2 separate regions of the Homo sapiens genome follow, and region 1 is linked to region 2. The links are contacts of gene promoters, found by promoter capture Hi-C in human tissues and cell types (Jung and others, 2019). All regions are on one chromosome and are shown on one strand. Each heading gives the region's core, a stretch centred on a gene start or on the middle of the fragment in contact. The rest is flanking DNA. Distances are from core to core; before and after follow the strand shown.

Region 1 (6,608 bases), core at 3,273-5,772, 48 kb before region 2:
TAGCAATCTTCCCATCTCAGCCAGGCTGAGGTGGGAGGATCACTTAGGGTGGGAAGATGGAGGCTGCAGTGAGCCACTGAACTTCAGCCTGTGCAACAGAGTGAGACCCTGACTCCAGAAAAAAAAAAAAAAAAAGTTAAGGTCAAAGGTCAAAGCCCTAGTGAGGAGGCTGTTGCATGGCCTGGACCAGGGCTGACGGGTCTAGCCCTGGTGGAAGCAGCGGGATAGGGAAGTGAATGGACAAAGGCAAGTCCCAGGGCAGCTCTCCGTGAGGGGTTGTTTGTGGGGAGTGAGGCCACAGGAGAAATCAGGCATGACTCCTCAGTCCTCAGGTGTGGCTGGAGCACCTGGGGAGATGGTGCGAGATGGGAGAACCTGGGGAGAGTGCCAGGCTGGGGGAACACTCAGGAGTTTGGTTTTGGACAAAATGAGCTTGGGATGCCTGTGAAATGTGGAGTCAAGGCAGTGTTGGGAACTGAACACTAGCTCTCTGAGGCTGGGCCACTCTTGCCTGGCTGTTGGGCCTGCCCCAGGGGAATGGAGAAGAGAGGAGAGGTTGGAGACCCACCCCTGGATGTGGGGAACCAGAGAGAAGCTTCTGGCTGCATTTTGATGATACAAGTGCCAAATGGGATAGCTCCATGCAAAGTTGGGTTGGCCTCCAGCAGTCCAGAGCTTATGCACATGTATGTGCATTTATACCCTTATGGGGTCCCCTGGGAAGGGAAGGGCCGCTCCTCTCTCCACCCAGCCTCCTCCCCTCCCCCAGCCTCTTTGCACAGAGATGACAGTTTAGAGAAGCTGGTGTGAAATAGCTTGAAACTCAGACCGTCTGGGCAGTCCCCCAGGGCAGAAAACAGGAAGCCAAGATTAAAGGCAGATTTCCAGCAAAGTCCCCTTCTATTTCCTGCAGAGCAGGTGCTCAGGCTGAGTTGGCTGCTAGCAAGAGGGGCCGGGCAGCTTCCCTTGCTGACAGCACCTCCAGGCCCCCCGCAGTGGCTGGCTTTCCAGCTTTGGGAGCTGTCCTTTGGCCCTGTCATCACCATCCCCACCAGGCCCTTAAGGAATGCGCCTCCTCCGGAAAGAGGCTGTCGCGGGAGTCATCACTAGGAAAGAGGCTTAACGGTGGCACAGACAGGAAGCAGAACTTGGGGGCACCCGTGAGGCAATGGGACCAAGCAGAAAAGGCATGGGCCGTGGGTCACTCAGGCCTGGCATGAATCCAAGGTGCAGGGTGCAGGGTGCAGGGTCTCACTGAGCTGTGGGGATGGGTTGAGACATGAAAGTAGGGGGAAAGGGGCCTTCAGGGAAGGTGGCCAGGGAGATCCGGCCAGTGCTGGGGCTGAGTGTCTCTAGGGAGAAACAGGGAGAAGCCAAGAGGCCACAGTAGCCCTTGTCATCTTAATGCCAGGGGCCTGTTGGCTGAGTGCCAGCTGAGGCCCACAGATAGCAAAGACTCAGGGAACCAGGGGCCAGGACAGGCCTCCCCTGTGACCTCTGCCCCTTCCTGCCTGACCTGCGGGAGAGCAGGCTCTTGGGGATTCCATCAAGTCAAGCAGCTGAGACTTCCTCCTGCAGAGATAAACCTTGGCCTTCCCAATAACCCCTCTCGCCCTCCTGAGAAGGCCTGAGCTCCCATCCTTCCAAAGCTGTCCTTTGGAGGAAACATGTCTGCCTGAATCTAGGCACTGAAAACCTCCCTCCTAAGGCTGGAAAGTTTATTATGAGGATGAGGCATTGGCCCAGGAGACCCAGGTTCTAGGGACAGACACTGCTTCTTTTTTTTTTTTTTTTGAGATGGAGTCTCGCTTTGTCGCCCAGTCTGGAGTGCATGGTGTGATCTCGGCTCACTGCAACCTCTGCCTCCCAGGTCCAAGCAATTCTCCTGCCTCAGCCTCCCGAGTAGCTGGGATTACAGGCGCCACCACCACACCCGGCTAATTTTTGTATTTTTAGTAGAGATGGGGTTTTACCATATTGGCCAGGCTGGTCTTGAACTCCTGAACTTGTGATCCGCCCGCCTTGGCCTCCCAAAGTATTGGGATTACAGGTGTGAGCCACCGCGTCCGGCCGACACTGCTTCTTACTTTGGGCCAGTCCTTCTCCTCTAGGCCTGTTTCCCTACCTAGCAACTGAAGGGTTTGGATTTGGTGATCCATAGGTCTGAATCCCTGTGTACAAGTGGAGGACCTTGGGAGTAAGGTGGGGAGGGGCTGCTGACTGCCTCTAATTTCTGTCCCCCTGGGACCAGAGAACTATCATTTACTGAACACCTACTATGTGCCAGGTACTTTATTATTATCATTGATAATAGCAGCTAATATTTATTGAGCACTTACTATGCACAACCGCTTTTCATGTCAGACCAAGGTCAGCTCTCTCCACTGCACCAGTTTGCTCCAAGAGGATTTCCTGAGAAGTTAGTTTTTGTTTCCCGTCGCGATGATGGTAGAAGTCTTGATTTGTTGGCTTGGTGGCTTGAGTGGTGTGGTGGTGACCCAACTGAGAGGCCACTGGGAACTGGAGGACCCCACCCTCGGGGCCTGAGGCAGCCAGCACTCAGGGGTTAACTGGCAGACCCCTGATCGCAAAGGTTTTGGGTCCTGGGCTTCCTGGTTTGATATCTCCCTAGAGAGGGCAGATCCAGAGCCAAGTCTATGACAAGAGTTCGCCAAGGTGCCTGGGATCCCTGCAGGCTGTCCCAGCGCCTCCCCCACGCACACGATTCCCTCCTCCTGGGTCCCTATCTTCTTGGAATGTTCTGTCTTGTGGGGGCAGAGGTGTTCAACAAGGCGAGGCAAGTTCCCAGAGGATTGTGCAAGTGCAGTGTGAGTGCGGAGCAGAGACCTCTCCTCACCTGAGCACTCAGACCCTGCAGGAGGAGAGGTGGTGCCTGGGGGCCTGGCAGAGGGGGCAACAGGAGCAGAGGCCCTGGAACTGGAAGGGATTGAGCTTTGGGCAAAAGGAAAACAGGCCAGGATGGGATGGGGTCAGAGCCTTGGAAGCAGAGGCGCAAATGGCCAGAGCCTGTAGGATCCCCTGTGGAATAGGGGAGTCTTTGGACTTCATCCTTAGGGCATCGGGGCCCCGCCCCCATGCTATTTGAGGGTTCACCACAGCCTCAGCTGATCAGATTTGCATGTTAAAAATATTACTTCTGCTTCTGGTTGGAGAATTGACTGGCTGTCCTCGGGAAGCTTTGATGACCTCTTCCCACATCCCAAGGCTGGAAGCCTCCCCTCTGCTATTGTCCCTCACTGGCCCACTTCTTAGTATTATAGCACTGACTACCCACTTCGTATTTGTGTCCTGATCGGCTGCTGGAGGCTGAATCCTGGTACTCAAACGTTTGTTGAATGAATAAGTGATATGAATTTCAATTAATAATAATAATAATAGGCAATGCTAATGTAGGTGTTGCATGTGCTAGCATCATTCTAAGCATTTTACGTGTCTTTTTGTTTGTTTGTTTTTGAGACAGAGTCTTGCTCTGTTGCCCAGGCTGTAGTGCAGTGGTGCGATCTCATCTCCTGCAACCTCCACTGCCACCCCCCTCCCCCCACCCTGGGTTCAAGTGATTCTCCCACCTCAGCCTCCCAGCAAGTAGCTGGGACCACAGGCACATGCGTGCCATCACACCCAGCTAATTTTTGTATTTTTAGTAGAGACAGGGTTTCGCCATCTTGGCCAGGCTGGTCTGGAGCTCCTGAGCTCAAGTGATCCACCTGCCTTGGCCTCCCAAAGTGCTGGGATTACAGGTGTGAGCCACCGCACCCTGCTGTTTACTTTTTTTTTGAGAAAGGGTCTCCCTATGTGCCTAGGATGGTTTTGGAGCTTCTAGGCTCAAGCAATCCTTCTGCCTCAGCCTCTCAGAGTAGCTGGGACTACAGGGGCCTGCCTGGCTATTCTACATGTCTTAAGTTTCATTTGATCCTCCCAATCTCTTTACAATGTAGATATTATTATTACTTCTATTTGCAGATAAGAAAACTAAAGAGGGATTTAAGGAGGACACAGTCACCAGATCCCAGCTGGGGGAAAAGGGACCCGGGATGCCACCACATCATTCTTGCTCAATTTATTACAAAGTCTTCCAGGTTGGAGTCCTGGCTGCACCCCATCCCAGCCTTGTGACCTTAAGCAAAAGTCACTGAACCTTTCTGAGCCTCAGTTTCCTCATCTCTAAAGTGGGACTGAGAGGACCCATGTCACAGGGGACTTATGCTAAACCGAGATGATGTAAAGTTGCTTGCTTAGCAGGGTTCTTTGACACAAGGCAGACTTTCACACCACGGCAGTTAGATGAATATTTTTTCTCTCACTCCTGAAACAGGCTTTGTAGTTCTGGCTCTCCCCTGCTGGGTTCAGTCGGGCTTTCCAAGGGTAGGGCCAGGCCTTTTGTCTGTTCCTAGGCCTACAGTTTCGCAATGGCTGATGAATTGAAAACCCTCATTCATCCATTCACTAAATATTGAGGGCGTGTTTACTACCTTCCAGGCACTGGAGCAGCTGGAATTGGGCAGAGCCAGAGCTACCTGGTTCCCACCTGGAGTCCTGGGCTCACAGCAGGCTGACATATCTCCCTCAATGCTGTCAGGGGTCACTTTTGTGCTGAACCCAATAGTCCCCAGGCTCTGCCTTGCTGACTGGAAGCCGCAGTTGGCACTGTTCTGGCTTTCCTCCTGGGAACTCTTTGGGCGAAAGCAGGAAAAGAGGCCCTGGGGTTCTCTGCAGTGCAAAGGTTAGAGACCTGGCCCAAGGTGGGGCAGGTGAGAAGGAGCAGGAGGTCTGCTCTGCGAGGGCTGGGAAGAGAGAGCAACTGGGCACTGGTGAGCCTCAGGCCCAGCTTTTGCAAAACCCATGCAAATGCCCCCGCCCAGGTGTTACACCTGTGAAGAAACCTGTGTGCCAACATTGTCCCTGTCAGAGATCAGAGGAGCTTTTGAAAGACCTCCTTGCCTGATTGGGGGTGGGGTGGAACTGGGCTGGGGGCTGGGGCCAGGGATAGATACTCCCTGAGCCGGAGGAGACTTTGGAAGCCCCAGTGAGTCAGGGATGAGGCCTGGAGGGCCCTTTGTCAGGGGACTCCAGAGGACCTGGAGGGAAATGCCCCTTCCTTTTGGCCCGTAAGACCCCCAGAATTTCCTTCTAGAGAGTGTGTGTTTGGGTGAGGTGAGCTCCGTGAGGACAGGGACTGGCTCCCTTTCTTCTGTCTCTCCATGGGAAGGCACAGAGCCTGTAGCCATAAATGTGTGCTGAATGAATACGTGAGTGACCAGATTTTCCCCCGGGGGTCTCAGGGCTCCCGTTCCAAGGAGAAGCTCCTTGCCTGCATCCCTATTGCCCGCGCCCCAGTCTATCTTCTTGAATCCCTAACTGGAAGCTTTGGGTCTCCAGGAGTGCTCTCCTGACATTGAGGTAGCCCCGGGAGGTCCCAGTCACCTCTCCCTCCAGCCAGGGTCAGTTCCTTCTTTTCTTTTTTTTCTTTTATTTTGAGACAGAGTCTCACTTTGTCGCCCAGGCTGGAGTGTAGTAGAGCGATCTTGGCTCCCTGCAAGCTCCATCTCCCAGGTTCAAGTGATTCTCCTGCCTTAGCCTCCTGAGTAGCTGGGACTACAGGCGTGTGCCACTATGCCTGGCTAATTTTTGTATTTTCAGTAGAGATGGGGTTTCACCATGTTGGCCGGGCTGGTCTTGAGAAATCCTGACCTCAAGTGATCCACCTGCCTCGCCCTCCCAAAGTGCTGGGATTACGGTGTGAGCCACCGAACCCAGGGCCGATCCTTTTTTTTTTTTTCTGAGACAGGGTCTTGCTCTGTCACCCAGGCTGGAGTACAGTGGTGCGATATCAGCTCACTGCAACCTCTGCCTCCTGGGCTCAAGCAATCCTCCTACCTCATCCTCCCGAGTAGCTGGGACTACAGGTGCATGCCACCACGCCCAGCTAATTTTTGTATTTTTAGTAGAGACGGGGTTTCACCATGTTGGCCGGGATCGTCTCGATCTCTTGACCTCATGATCTGTCTGTGTTGGCCTCCCAAAGTGTTGGGATTACAGGAGTGAGCCACCGCGCCCAGCCTGGGGCCAGTTCTTATCCCCTAAAGATTCCCACCCTCACCCCGCAGCCAGGTTGCCTCCTGCAGCCTGCAGCCCTCAGCGACTCCAAGTCCTCTGCAGCTGGTGGTGTAGCCAGCTCTCAATGCCTGTCTCCACCAAGTGACCAGCCAGCAGTGTGTTTGGCAGCTCACTGAGGAGGCCCACCAGGTGGGCTGCTGGGAGCCAGCCCCTTGCGTGGGGCCTGGCGCGGGTGCTGACACCCACCTCCACCCCCCGCTTTGCTGAATGAGTGAGGATAGATGTTGGGGAGACAGGACCAAAGCTTGGGATGAGTCAGGCCGGCTAGGGCCAGGATGTGTGACTGGGGCCCAGGGAGATGATGTTTGCTGGCAGTGCCCTGTTCCAGCCGCACTGGAGCCCTTACTTTCCCTGGGTGACTGCCCTATTCCCAGCTTGGTTCTCTGTCTTTGTGAGCGGGGCATTTATTTTCTGCTAATGTTAGCTGGAGGTCAGTCTCTGTTGTTTGTGACTTAGAAGCCTGACTGGTGCCC
Region 2 (6,126 bases), core at 1,477-3,976:
AGGGAGAGCTGCTAAAGATTCTTATTCCTGCCTTCAGAGTGGTGGGAGCTACCAAAGAAATTTAAGCAAGGTGGTGATGGAATGAGATTTTGCATTTTTGACAGGACCACTCTGGGTGCCACAGGATGGAGAAGTAATTGGACGGAGCAAAAGGCAAATGGGAACCTAGGTGGAGGCTAAGTGCTCCAGGGAGCAATGATGGGCCCTGGATGAGTTGTGGCAGTGGAGCTGGACAGATGCCAAAGCAGATGCCAAGCAGAGAAATGTGCCTCCTATTCTTAGCACAGTAGCCCGAGTGACCTTGCTTCTCTTACACCCCAGCCATGTCTCTATCTCGCACAGAGGAAGTCTCATGTCTCTCAATGGGGTGCTCCCTGCACATGCGGCAGGGCGCTGTGCCTCATGGGCATCCCATCCCCCTGGACTACATGCCAGGAGAACTCCCCAGTCACATGACCTCTGCACATCCCTGGTACTGCTCGGTCCTTCAAGAACCACTGTGGTGGGGGGTGGCGGGAGGCTTTGATTTTGCTTATTCCCTCTGCCAGTTGCAGTCTTTTATTTGAGATGGAGTCTCGCTCTGTCACCCAGGCTGGAGTGCAGTGGCGTGATCTCAGCTCACTGCAACATCTGCCTCCCAGGTTCAAGCAATTCTCCTGCCTGACTCCACTCCCCCCAAACCCCCCTCACCGCCCCAGTATCTGGGATTACAGGTGAGCAACACCATGCCCGGCTAATTTTTGTATTTTTGATAGAGATGGGGTTTTGCCATATTGGCCAGGCTGGTCTTGAACTCCTGACCTCAGGCGATCCTCCCGACTCGGCCTTCCAAAGTCCTGGGATTACAGGCGTGAGCCACCGCACCTGCCCAGGTACACTTTTTATCCAGATATCTATGCACATTGATTCTTGACTCCACACTCCTGCCTCTCTCCGCAAGGCCTTCCCTGACCCCCTTGTTTTGAATTGCAATCTGCCCTCACATAATCCGTACGCCTTTTCTGTTTAATTTTTTTCAACCGCACTTTTTACCCTCTCACATTCTCTAGATTTGGGGCATATTACTTGTCTCCTTCCATCAGAATGTAAACTCCACGAGATTAGGAGTGCTGTCAGCTGTGTTCCCTTCTCTGTCAATCGCCAGCGCCTCCGAACAGCTCCTGGCACATAGTAGTTGCTTGGTAAATATTTGTGCAATGCACGAGGCCGCATATGACCGGAATGGGAGGTGAGGGGATTATTTTCTGGCCTGGACCAGCGACGGATGGTGGTGCCACCGGGTTGGGGAGCACGTCGGGGATGGCGCGTAACGATGTTAGCTGGGGCCAGGTTGAGCTAGGCACGCAAATACAACTTTTTTTTTCCTGGAAACCCTGTAACAGGAAGGTTCCGGAGGGCGGGACAGCGTCGGAGGCAGGCAGCTAGGCCATGCCAAATGGCACTGGGGCTTCGTGTCGTGCCACAGGCGTGGACCGAAAATGCGGACACATGCAGGCTGCCTCTCCTCGCAGGCAGAAGCCACACGCAGACCTAGACCCTTTGCACCGCATCCCCTTATTCAATCGCGCACCCGCCACCCTTCGACAGTTCCTCTCCCTCCACCCCAACCCCACGCCGCGCGCGAGGCTGGCCCTTTAAGAGCCCCGCCCCGACTCCCTCCCCCCTCGCGTGACTGCGAGCCCCCGCGCCGGGCCGGGGAATGGGTCGGCTGGGTGGCTGCGCGGGCCTCCGGTCCTTCTCACGCAACGCCTGGGCACCGCGCCTCCGGGCCAGGTGGGGCGGGGACGGGCCGCCTGACCTCTGCCCCCTAGAGGGATGTCGCCGGCGCACGCAAGCTAGCCGGGGGTAGGGTGGGGGCTCCGCGCCAGGTGCCCCCTCCGTGGTCCCTGGGCCCGAGTCTTTCCGTGGCCCCCCGCCGCCGGATTTCTGTGCTCTGCCAATCAAAGCACTAGCCACCCCGGGAGCCAAGAGGGACCCTCAAGGGCCGGTGGGTCCTGGCTGGAGGGACCGCGCGTTGCAATCAGCACTAAGGCGATCCTAGAGGCTGCGAGGAGCCGCTAGTGAGCGCTCAGCGAGCCTGCCCCTTCGCCATCCATTCCGATCCTTCAATCAAGAGGCGCGAACCTCAGCTAGTCGCCCGGGCTCTGGGGGACAGGTCCAGCCCCGCGGCGCCTCTGGCCTTCCGGCCCCCGTGACCTCAGGGCTGGGGTCGCAGCGCTTCTCACGCGAGCCGGGACTCAGTAACCCCGGGAAGGAGGTCACCACGGGGCAGCCCCGCCCCCGCCTGCCGAGTCCTGGTAGGCTGTAGCGCTGGGGAGGCATCTGCACGCCCAGCGTTCCAGTGGGTGCAAAAATGACGAAGAGGAGTCCCCGCGCCCCAGGATGGAGCTTCCCGTACCCTCTCTTCGGGCTGTCCTGGGACTTCTCCCTCAAGCCCCCTCCTCGGCTGGGTTCTGCACTGCCCTTGGGACGCCTTGGAATTGGGACTTCCAGGTGTTCCCAGCCCTCACCCCTCTATGTACAGGCACCGAGATGTGTCCCATAGTGGGTTCTTGCCCACCCGACCCCCCACCCCCGCCGCCCTCCGCCACCTTTCTCTCCAATCCCAGAGAGACCAGCCCGGTTCAGGCTGCTTCTCCCTCCATCTCAGCTCGCTCCAGGGAAGGAGGCGTGGCCACACGTACAAGCCCGCCTATAAAGGTGGCAGTGCCTTCACCCTCACCCTGAAGGTGACAGTTCCTTGGAACCTTCCCTGATCCTTGTGATCCCAGGCTCCAAGAGTCCACCCTTCCCAGCTCAGCTCAGTACCTCAGGTGAGTTGCTGGGGGACTTCTGGCTTGCCCTTTCTCTCCCAATAAAAGGAACATTTTGGTGCCTCCAGGACTTCTTAGGTAGCTACCTGTCTAGCACCTCCAAAAAGGGAGGCTCAGAGTGTTTTTAGTGACCAGGCAGTCTAGCCCCCTAGTGGGGAAACTGAGGCCAGGGGAAGAGGAGGACTTGCCCATGGTCCCACAGCTGGTACCAGACCTCTAGATACAGATGGCATCTCATTCAGGACTTCAGGACCCAGGCTCCAGCTCCATCCCCTAGTGAGTGTCTCCCTGCCTACCCTGGGGCTTCCCCATCAAGGCCACCTGGCAGGCTGGAATATGTGCAGCCCCTCCCTCAGGCTTTCTGATGACAGGGGCTTCTCCTTGGGTGGACAGGGTGGATGGAGGGGGTGGGCTGGGTTCTTACCAGCTGTACCCTGCCCTAGCCTAAGAAGCTACCCCTGGCAGATTTTACCCTCCTAAGGGTGGCTTGTCAGTGCTGAGATGTCCTAGACAGCTGGGACAATAGAGGCAGATCTGTGCAGGAGTCCCAGGCCTTTCCTATCTCATTGACCATCTTCTTTGTCCTTTGCTGGGAGACAATCAGGGTGACAGATTGCCAACTGCAGGGAGCTGGAAATACCAGTCCCTAAAAACTCACCAGTCACATCTCCCTTGGCCTCCTACCATCTTACAAAGGCTGCAGGTCCTTGGGATACCCACTGTGCAGAAGGGGACACCATAGCACACCAAAGCCTGGCACTGTCCCCTGTTGACTCAGGGATCTAGTGTGCTTTGATATTTAGCCCCTCCAGGAAGCCTCCCTCCACTATAATACTTGTGGTAGGAACCATCCATCTCCCTGTCTTGTGAGGTTCTCCTGTGGGGAGCCTAACTGGTAAGACTGTCAGGTTCCCCACAGCAGATCTGGGTTTTCTCTTCCCTCTGGATCCAGCTGGGTACTCTGAACTGAGAGATCTTGTCTTACCCTCTCTCAGATGTTGAAATTGGACCCCAGAAAAGTAAAATGTGCAGTCCAAGATCACTTTGACTAGAATGTTGGGTCTACTGACCTCTAGTCCAGGGTAACAGGCAGAGATGCCTGATATGTTGGAGAGAGTGGTTTATGAATTTAAACACCCTTTTTAGGTCAAGCTTACAGAGAAAGTATTGCCTCAGTTTCCTTTCAGTTTAGATCCATTCCTGATTTCCCTGATTCCAGTCTGGGGTTTTCTTACAGCCTAGTGGGAACCTTCCATTTATTCTCTGCTCTCTGGTAACCTGCAAAAGGGGGAGGTCCAAACTGTTCATTCATTGAGAATTGAGCCAAAAAAAAACCCTGGCCTGGATTTCTCTGACTAAAGAGCTCAATCTAGCTGGTCTCCAGCTGCCTTTAAACTGTGGATCAGTTGAACTCAGAGAGCTGGGGCTGAAAGCAATGTGGTTTGGGAAGTGGCCATCCTGTCCCCTATCTCTTCCTCAGTCTGTCCTGGGGTCTGGTGGGATTTCCTGCATCCTGGGATTGAGCAGCAGAGAACTGAGGGTTCTGGGAAAATTCCTTCATTGATCTGACCACTCTTCAAAAGGAGGTACATGTGACAGCAGCTGGAAATTTCCAGGGAAGTGTCCCTAAGGAGTCTGAGTCCTGGCTCTGTCACTGATTGCTGGGGGACTTTGGACAAGTCAGCGCTGCTTCCCCCAAATGTTAAATGAGGCTAAAGGATCAGATGATCCCTAATTCCCCTGAGAACATGATTTTCCTAAGTGTGGTGGGTAGGACTCGGGGTGATACACCTTGATTATGTGTTTATTTTAATGTGTTAGGGGAAAAATCAAACTTGTACTTTCACATAGATATTGTTTATGATGATATGTAGGTAGATTTAAAGTTGATTTTAGGAAAATGTGAAGTAAATAACAGTACTGGTACTATGTGGAAATCACAGATTGACATTGGAAGATGTCAGTTTAGATTGGTACAGCAGTTAAGAGAAAGCGTTCTGGAATTAGGCAACTTGGCTTGGGAGTCTGCATCCAACACTTTCTGGCTGTGTGACCTTGGGCAAGTTACTTACCTTCTCTGAGCCTCATTGCAGGCTACTTCATAGATTTGTGGCCAGGGCTGAATGAAGAAGGACTGTGAAATTCTTAGCCCACAGTGGTAGTTCAACAACTTCTCCCCACCTCACCCTCTTCTTCATGCCCAGTAAGCAGTTCTGGTGGAAAGGTTTCCCCTTTCCCTGACACTCTAGATATTGGCTTTTCTCATCCCCCAATCTGACGGCTTGACTTTTTTTCTTCCTGCACCTTCTCTCAGCAGCCACCTCCAAGATCCCTACACTGATCATGCTTTTCCCAATCTCCATGTCGGCCACGGAGTTTCTTCTGGCCTCTGTCATCTTCTGTCTGGTATTCTGGGTAATCAGGGCCTCAAGACCTCAGGTCCCCAAAGGCCTGAAGAATCCACCAGGGCCATGGGGCTGGCCTCTGATTGGGCACATGCTGACCCTGGGAAAGAACCCGCACCTGGCACTGTCAAGGATGAGCCAGCAGTATGGGGACGTGCTGCAGATCCGAATTGGCTCCACACCCGTGGTGGTGCTGAGCGGCCTGGACACCATCCGGCAGGCCCTGGTGCGGCAGGGCGATGATTTCAAGGGCCGGCCCGACCTCTACACCTTCACCCTCATCAGTAATGGTCAGAGCATGTCCTTCAGCCCAGACTCTGGACCAGTGTGGGCTGCCCGCCGGCGCCTGGCCCAGAATGGCCTGAAAAGTTTCTCCATTGCCTCTGACCCAGCCTCCTCAACCTCCTGCTACCTGGAAGAGCATGTGAGCAAGGAGGCTGAGGTCCTGATAAGCACGTTGCAGGAGCTGATGGCAGGGCCTGGGCACTTTAACCCCTACAGGTATGTGGTGGTATCAGTGACCAATGTCATCTGTGCCATTTGCTTTGGCCGGCGCTATGACCACAACCACCAAGAACTGCTTAGCCTAGTCAACCTGAATAATAATTTCGGGGAGGTGGTTGGCTCTGGAAACCCAGCTGACTTCATCCCTATTCTTCGCTACCTACCCAACCCTTCCCTGAATGCCTTCAAGGACCTGAATGAGAAGTTCTACAGCTTCATGCAGAAGATGGTCAAGGAGCACTACAAAACCTTTGAGAAGGTACAGTCTGGGGAAAGGCAGGTGGGTGGTGGGAAGCAGATGGCATCAGGGCCTGGGAGGTCAAAGGTAAGAGGAACTGCATGGGGCTTGGCAAGTTCTCAGGAAGGCTTCAACCTGGGATCTTGAAGCCAGTTGTGGAATAGTC

Evidence for each region. The method cuts DNA at HindIII sites, captures the fragments that hold promoters and counts their contacts. A contact is called where the count stands out against the background at its distance.
Region 1: a fragment that was not itself captured here is called in contact with the fragment with the promoter of CYP1A1 in region 2 in 3 of the 25 tissues and cell types used here (aorta, mesendoderm cells and thymus).

Annotation. Positions count from the first base shown.
Region 1 is chr15:74,771,766-74,778,373 of GRCh38, reverse strand. No RefSeq gene overlaps it. Among named protein-coding and RNA genes, the nearest start is that of CSK, 7.0 kb to the left of the region's middle. RefSeq lists enhancers at 89-619, 2,836-2,905, 2,926-3,035, 4,135-4,712, 5,669-6,382 and 1 more. The HindIII fragment of the contact is 5,252 bases long and covers 1,897-6,608 here.
Region 2 is chr15:74,722,128-74,728,253 of GRCh38, reverse strand. CYP1A1 (cytochrome P450 family 1 subfamily A member 1) reads left to right here and starts at 2,726. Exons shown (of 7, transcript NM_001319217.2): 1 at 2,726-2,813; 2 at 5,128-5,981. The coding sequence starts at 5,157. RefSeq lists enhancers at 1,660-1,683, 1,732-1,746, 1,821-1,843, 982-2,181, 2,214-2,237, silencers at 1,730-1,889, 1,889-1,998, 2,070-2,149, 1,994-2,169, 1,889-2,169, a cis regulatory region at 889-2,263 and a promoter at 1,114-3,018. The HindIII fragment of the contact is 9,362 bases long and covers 1-6,126 here.